Linked DNA regions of Homo sapiens: region 2 is linked to region 1. Evidence: promoter capture Hi-C in human tissues and cell types (Jung and others, 2019). All regions are on one chromosome and are shown on one strand. Each heading gives the region's core, a stretch centred on a gene start or on the middle of the fragment in contact. The rest is flanking DNA. Distances are from core to core; before and after follow the strand shown. Region 1 holds the start of HP (haptoglobin). Region 2 overlaps IST1 (IST1 factor associated with ESCRT-III).

What was found. The method cuts DNA at HindIII sites, captures the fragments that hold promoters and counts their contacts. A contact is called where the count stands out against the background at its distance.
Region 2: a fragment that was not itself captured here is called in contact with the fragment with the promoter of HP in region 1 in 1 of the 25 tissues and cell types used here (liver).

The regions. Positions count from the first base shown.
Region 1 is chr16:72,053,114-72,055,818 of GRCh38, forward strand. HP (haptoglobin) reads left to right here and starts at 1,392. Exons shown (of 7, transcript NM_005143.5): 1 at 1,392-1,544. The coding sequence starts at 1,540. The HindIII fragment of the contact is 10,372 bases long and covers 1-2,705 here.
Region 2 is chr16:71,918,593-71,921,297 of GRCh38, forward strand. It overlaps IST1 (IST1 factor associated with ESCRT-III), which reads left to right. Exons shown (of 10, transcript NM_001270975.2): 5 at 2,147-2,230. Among named protein-coding and RNA genes, the nearest start is that of IST1, 24 kb to the left of the region's middle. RefSeq lists an enhancer at 741-920. The HindIII fragment of the contact is 3,427 bases long and covers 1-2,705 here.

The DNA of each region.
Region 1 (2,705 bases), core at 142-2,641:
AACAACCCTTTATCAGATATAGAATTTGCAAATATTTTCTCCCATTCTGTAGACTGTCTTCACTTTTTTTTTTGAGACAGAGTCTTGTTCTGTCACCCAGGCTGGAGTGCAGTGGTGCGATCTAGGCTCACTGCAACCTCTGCCTCCCAGGTTCAAGCAATTCTCCTGCCTCAGCCTCCGAGTAGCTGGGATTAAAGCATGCGCCACCATGCCTGGCTAATTTTTGTATTTTTAGTAGAGATGGAATTTCACCACATTGGTCAGGCTGGTCTCAAACTCCTGACCTCATGATCCGCCCACCTCAGCCTCCCGAAGTGCTGGGATTACAGGCGTGAGCCACCACGCCTGGCCTGTCTTCATTTTATTAATACTGTCTTTTGATACACAAATGTTCATTCCGATGAAGCCCAATTTATCTAATTTTTCTTTGATTGCTGGTGATTTTGGTGTCATTATCTAAGAATCCATTGCCAAGTTTTACTTGGTTTTGATCTCTAGAAGACTGCCATCATACTGAAGGTAATCTTCTGAAACTTGCGGTTTTCTTTCAAAAATTATGTTTATAAGATGATCCATGTTCTTGCAGAGTTTATTCATTTTATGCTGTATAATATTCCATTATATCCACATACAATGCAGTATTGACCCTTCCTCCTGTTGATGGGCATTTGTCTTGTTTCTAGTTACTTTGCTATTATATCAGTGTCACCATGATTATCCAAAAGTAATTCTTTTGTACACTCTAATTTAAGAACAACTAACCCTTTTTAATGAATAAATCAACCTTGTATTGAGTTGCTACTAAGTTTCAGTTGACTAGTACCTGGGATACACACAGGTGCAGACATTTGACTGAGACATATTGATTTTTCTCATCTGCCTATTTAGGCTAATCACCAGACTATAAAACCATGAGAACCACTGCCATTGAGTATAGTCTGTGTCAGTCTACACTATAGCTTTAACTAGTTGTGTGATTTCTTGCAAAGAGCAATCAGAGAAGACACAATAAACACATTTACTGATTTCAGGCTGGAGAGCTTTTAAGCAATAGGGAGATGGCCACACACAAGGTGGAGAAAATTACTGTGAAAAGGAAGTACTTTCTTTAGAGCCCCACCTAAGCTAGGCTGCAGAAATGTCTACAATGGGTTTGAAAAAACTCAAAATGAGCCTTTCTGCAGTGTGAAAATCCTCCAAGATAAAGAGACAGATTGATGGTTCCTGCCGCCGCCCTGTCCTGCCCAGTTGCTGATTTCAGGAAATACTTTGGCAGGTTTGTGGGTCATAGAGTTGCCAGGTTTCTTGGGATTTGTAATAGAACATCACAAGAAAATCAAGTGTGAAGCAAGAGCTCAACTCTTAACAGGGGTATTGTTTGTGGTTTTGTTACTGGAAAAGATAGTGACCTTACCAGGGCCAAAGTTTGTAGACACAGGAATTACGAAATGGAGAAGGGGGAGAAGTGAGCTAGTGGCAGCATAAAAAGACCAGCAGATGCCCCACAGCACTGCTCTTCCAGAGGCAAGACCAACCAAGATGAGGTGGGTCCACAGCTTTCCCTCCTGCCTTTCCTCTGGTTCTTTATTTCAGTCTTTTTTGCATACATCGGTAGAGATGCAGAAATAGAACAAAGAAACGGGCAAATGGGCTAAATTATAGTGAACCAAAGGGCTTAGTGTGTTAAATCTTCTCCTTTTCTGCATCCATAGAAGACAGTGCTGCTGTCTTTCCCAGGAGATAAGATTTACTCTCAGGAGTGTCTTTTTCCTTCAGGTTACATTTTTGACTTTATAGGGTATGTCATCAGCTCCCGTGGTAGGCTTCCTGGCATCCTGAGTATATTTATTAGCAGATATTTTCCTCTTTAAAAATGTACAATAAGGAAGACTAATAGTAACACATTTGAATGACACAATTAATTGACTAGTACCTGGGATACACACTAATACCTGGGATACATCTAATTAAGGCACTTAGATCTTATAAAAATAAACACTTTTTGAAATGTTGAAATAATAAGACTAGAAACTTTTTTTTTTTTTGAGATGGAGTCTCGCTTTGTCACCAGGCTGCAGTGCAGTGGCATGATCTCGGCTCACTGCAACCTCCACCTCCCAGGTTCAAGTGATTCTCCTGCCTCAGCCTCCCAGGTAGCTGGGACTACAGGCGTGCGCCACTATGCCCACCTAATTTTTGTATTTTTAGTAGAGACGGGCTTTCACCATGTTGGCCAGGATGACCTCGATCTCTTGACCTCGTGATCTGCCTGCCTTGGCCTCCCAAAGTGCTGGGATTACAGGCATGAGCCACCGTGTCTGGCCTAGAAACTATTTTAATAGAAGCAAGTAGTGCCCGAATGGTTGGCATTTGTTAGTGAGATGGTGAACTGGCAGACGGCACCTGTGGGTCAATGCCCATGGCCACCGTCCTGCTTTTGGACACCAGTTCTCTTCCAGGTAACCTTCTGGCATTTTGGGGTTTCAGATACCATTTCCTAAAGGTGAATTATTATAAAATACTAGAAATACCCACGTGTTTAAAATTATATATTTAAGGAACCTTTTATTACGGAAAATATCAAGAAGTAGAGGAATAGCACAGTAAGCCCAAAGTTCCCATCTCTGAGTTATCTACATTTTATTACCACTATCTTTGCGGTGTCTGAGGGAGGTTTCTCTTTCCTGGAGGGCTCCTGTATTATT
Region 2 (2,705 bases), core at 138-2,637, 130 kb before region 1:
TTTTTGGTAGAGACGGGATTTCATCATGTTGACCAGGCTGGTCTCGAACTCCTGACCTCGTGATCCGCCTGCCTCGGCCTCCCAAAGTGTTGGGATTACAGGCGTGAGCCACCATGTTGAGCCGTTTTTGGTCTCTTCTGTACTCCTTTAAAATTAATTTTGGAAAAGGCTTAAATATGTTACAAAACTCAAAAGCCATAAACAGAGTGATAAATTAATGTGAATAAAAAAATCTCTGTGTAGTATAAACCAGCCAAAACAAAAACCATAAAAGACAAATGCCATTTATATCATAGGTGTCAGGTACCCCTGAAAGTCTTCATAATGAACAGTGAGAACTCTCCTACTGGGCTTCTGGAATGTTGGGACCACTCTGGTCCAATGCTACTGTCGTTTCCTGTCTGGAAATGAGAGTAGCTTCTTGAATATTCTTCCTATTCCTACTTTGGCTTCTTTTAATCTATTCACACCATTCCATCAGAACCACCTGAGGGTTTTGTCCAAAACACAGCTCCGATCCTGTCACGACCTCTTGCTTTAAAGCCCATTAGTAGCTTTCTGTTGCTCTTGTGATAGAAACAAAACTCCCTGATACAGCCTACATGGTCCTGCATTGTCTGGCTCCCACTTCCCTTTTTCATTTCTTACCACACTCCTTGGCCTCTGCACTAGAGGCTCACTGGCTGATTGCAGGCTTGAGAACTGACCATGTTTGTTTCTGCCAGAGGCCTTTGCACTGCTGTTTTCTTTTCCTGGAATGTGCTTCCTTCCCTATTTAGTTAACTCCTAGTCATCCTTTAATTTATTATTTGAGACGGTCTTGATCTGTCACCCAGGCTGGAGTGCAGTGGCACGATCTTGCCTCACTGCAGCCTCGGCTTCCTGGGCTCAACTGATCATCCTCCCACCTCAGCCCCCTGAGTAGCTGAGACAAGAGGTGCGTGCCACCATGCCCAGCTAATTTTTGTATCTTTTAAAAATAGAGACTAGGGTTTTGCTGCGTTGCCCAGGCTGGTCTTGAACACCTGAACTCAAGTGATCAGCCTGCCTCAGCCTCACAAAGTGTTGGGATTACAGGCATGAGCCACGATGCCTGGCCTTAGTCATCCTTTAAATCTCAGCAAAGCATCACTTCCCTCAGGAAGCCTTACCTGACTTTTCTGATCAGATTTGATTCTGCTGTTAGAAGCTGGTGATAGCATGGTGCACCTTCCCTTGGTATCACTTACTGTAGTTGCAGTTGTACCTTTATCTGTGTGATTATTTTGTTAGAAATGCTTGTTCCCCAGTGCCACAGAGAAATAGCACTCAAATATAAATTTATTTCAGCAAGGCAATTTTTACCTTCTGCAGAAAGGGTGCTCCTTGCAGATGGAACAATGGCGAGCGCACACTGAACAAAGGGGGTAAAAATATTTATATCCTACACATCTGGACCCTACTGCTGTGTCCTGATTCCATTGGCTGGAACTGGACCTCACAGTCTGGGCTACACCCGTTTGGCTAAAGGTTTTAAAAGTTTTTAAAATAGATATATGCAAGGGAGAACAAAGGAAAAGAGGAACTTGCTTATGAGAAGACTTAGAAAAGTACTAACATTCCCAAATAAGGAAGGGGCATAGGCTGCGAGCTGGGACTTGCCTGTGAGCACATCTAGCACAGATATCTTGGTTAAAGTACAAGGACATAGAATGTATTTCTTATATTTAACAGCTACATAGGATACGGCTTAACAAAGAGTTATTAGCACAAAGCAAGGAGGCTTGAAGGAAGTTAGTCTTTTAAAAGAAGCTTATTTCTAACACTTATGATTTATTCTTTAACAAGGGAAATTTTGAAGAGGAAACTTTACTTTGTACAATTTGATTAATGTAAGACTCTATAAGAGTAAGAACAGTATCTGTTTTGTTCATTTTATTTATATTGTATAATACTCATGATAGTGTTTGGCACTCGAGTGCTGCTCATTGGATGGATGGATGGATGGATGAACAAATAGTGGATTAATGCATACCCCTTAAGGTTTTGCAGACTCCAGTGTTTTGGAAATCTTGTAATAGACGCGTGTTTACTGTTGCCAGGAAGAAGCTTAAAGCAGTCCGTTGGAGTGGTCTCTATTTTTATTTGCTGTCCTTTTTCTTTTTAGGTTGCTGATCAGCTCTGTGCCAAGTATAGCAAGGAATATGGCAAGCTATGTAGGACCAACCAGATTGGAACTGTGAATGACAGGGTAATGAACATACTTGGTAAACATGAAGGCAGTGTGTGGGAGCAGTTTATTGTACTGCTTGTGGCAATTCTAGTGGGTACCACTGTATTGCTCAGTATGGGGTTTCACCTTTCATAGTGGGGTGAGGAGGACAGCTGTGTGGCTGGCAGTGTGGTCCAATCCTTACACCTGCCCAATTCCTCTGGTTACTGTCATTCCTGACTCCACTTCCCCACTTTGTATGCCTCGTGTCATTTGTGAAGGTTGGAAGTGAGGTGGGGAGAAGGGTGGATGAATTGAACTGTGGAAGGCAGCAGTATCATCTTTTGCCAGCATCTGGGTCATGTGTAATGAGAATGTGAAAGAGAGACTTGGGTCCTCTGATGTGTCTTGTGACTCTGAAAAAAATCATTTAACTGCTCTGAACCTTTTTTTCCCTCAATATTACCTGTAAAATGAGAGGAGCTAACTTCGCATAGTGAGGTGAGGATTAGGC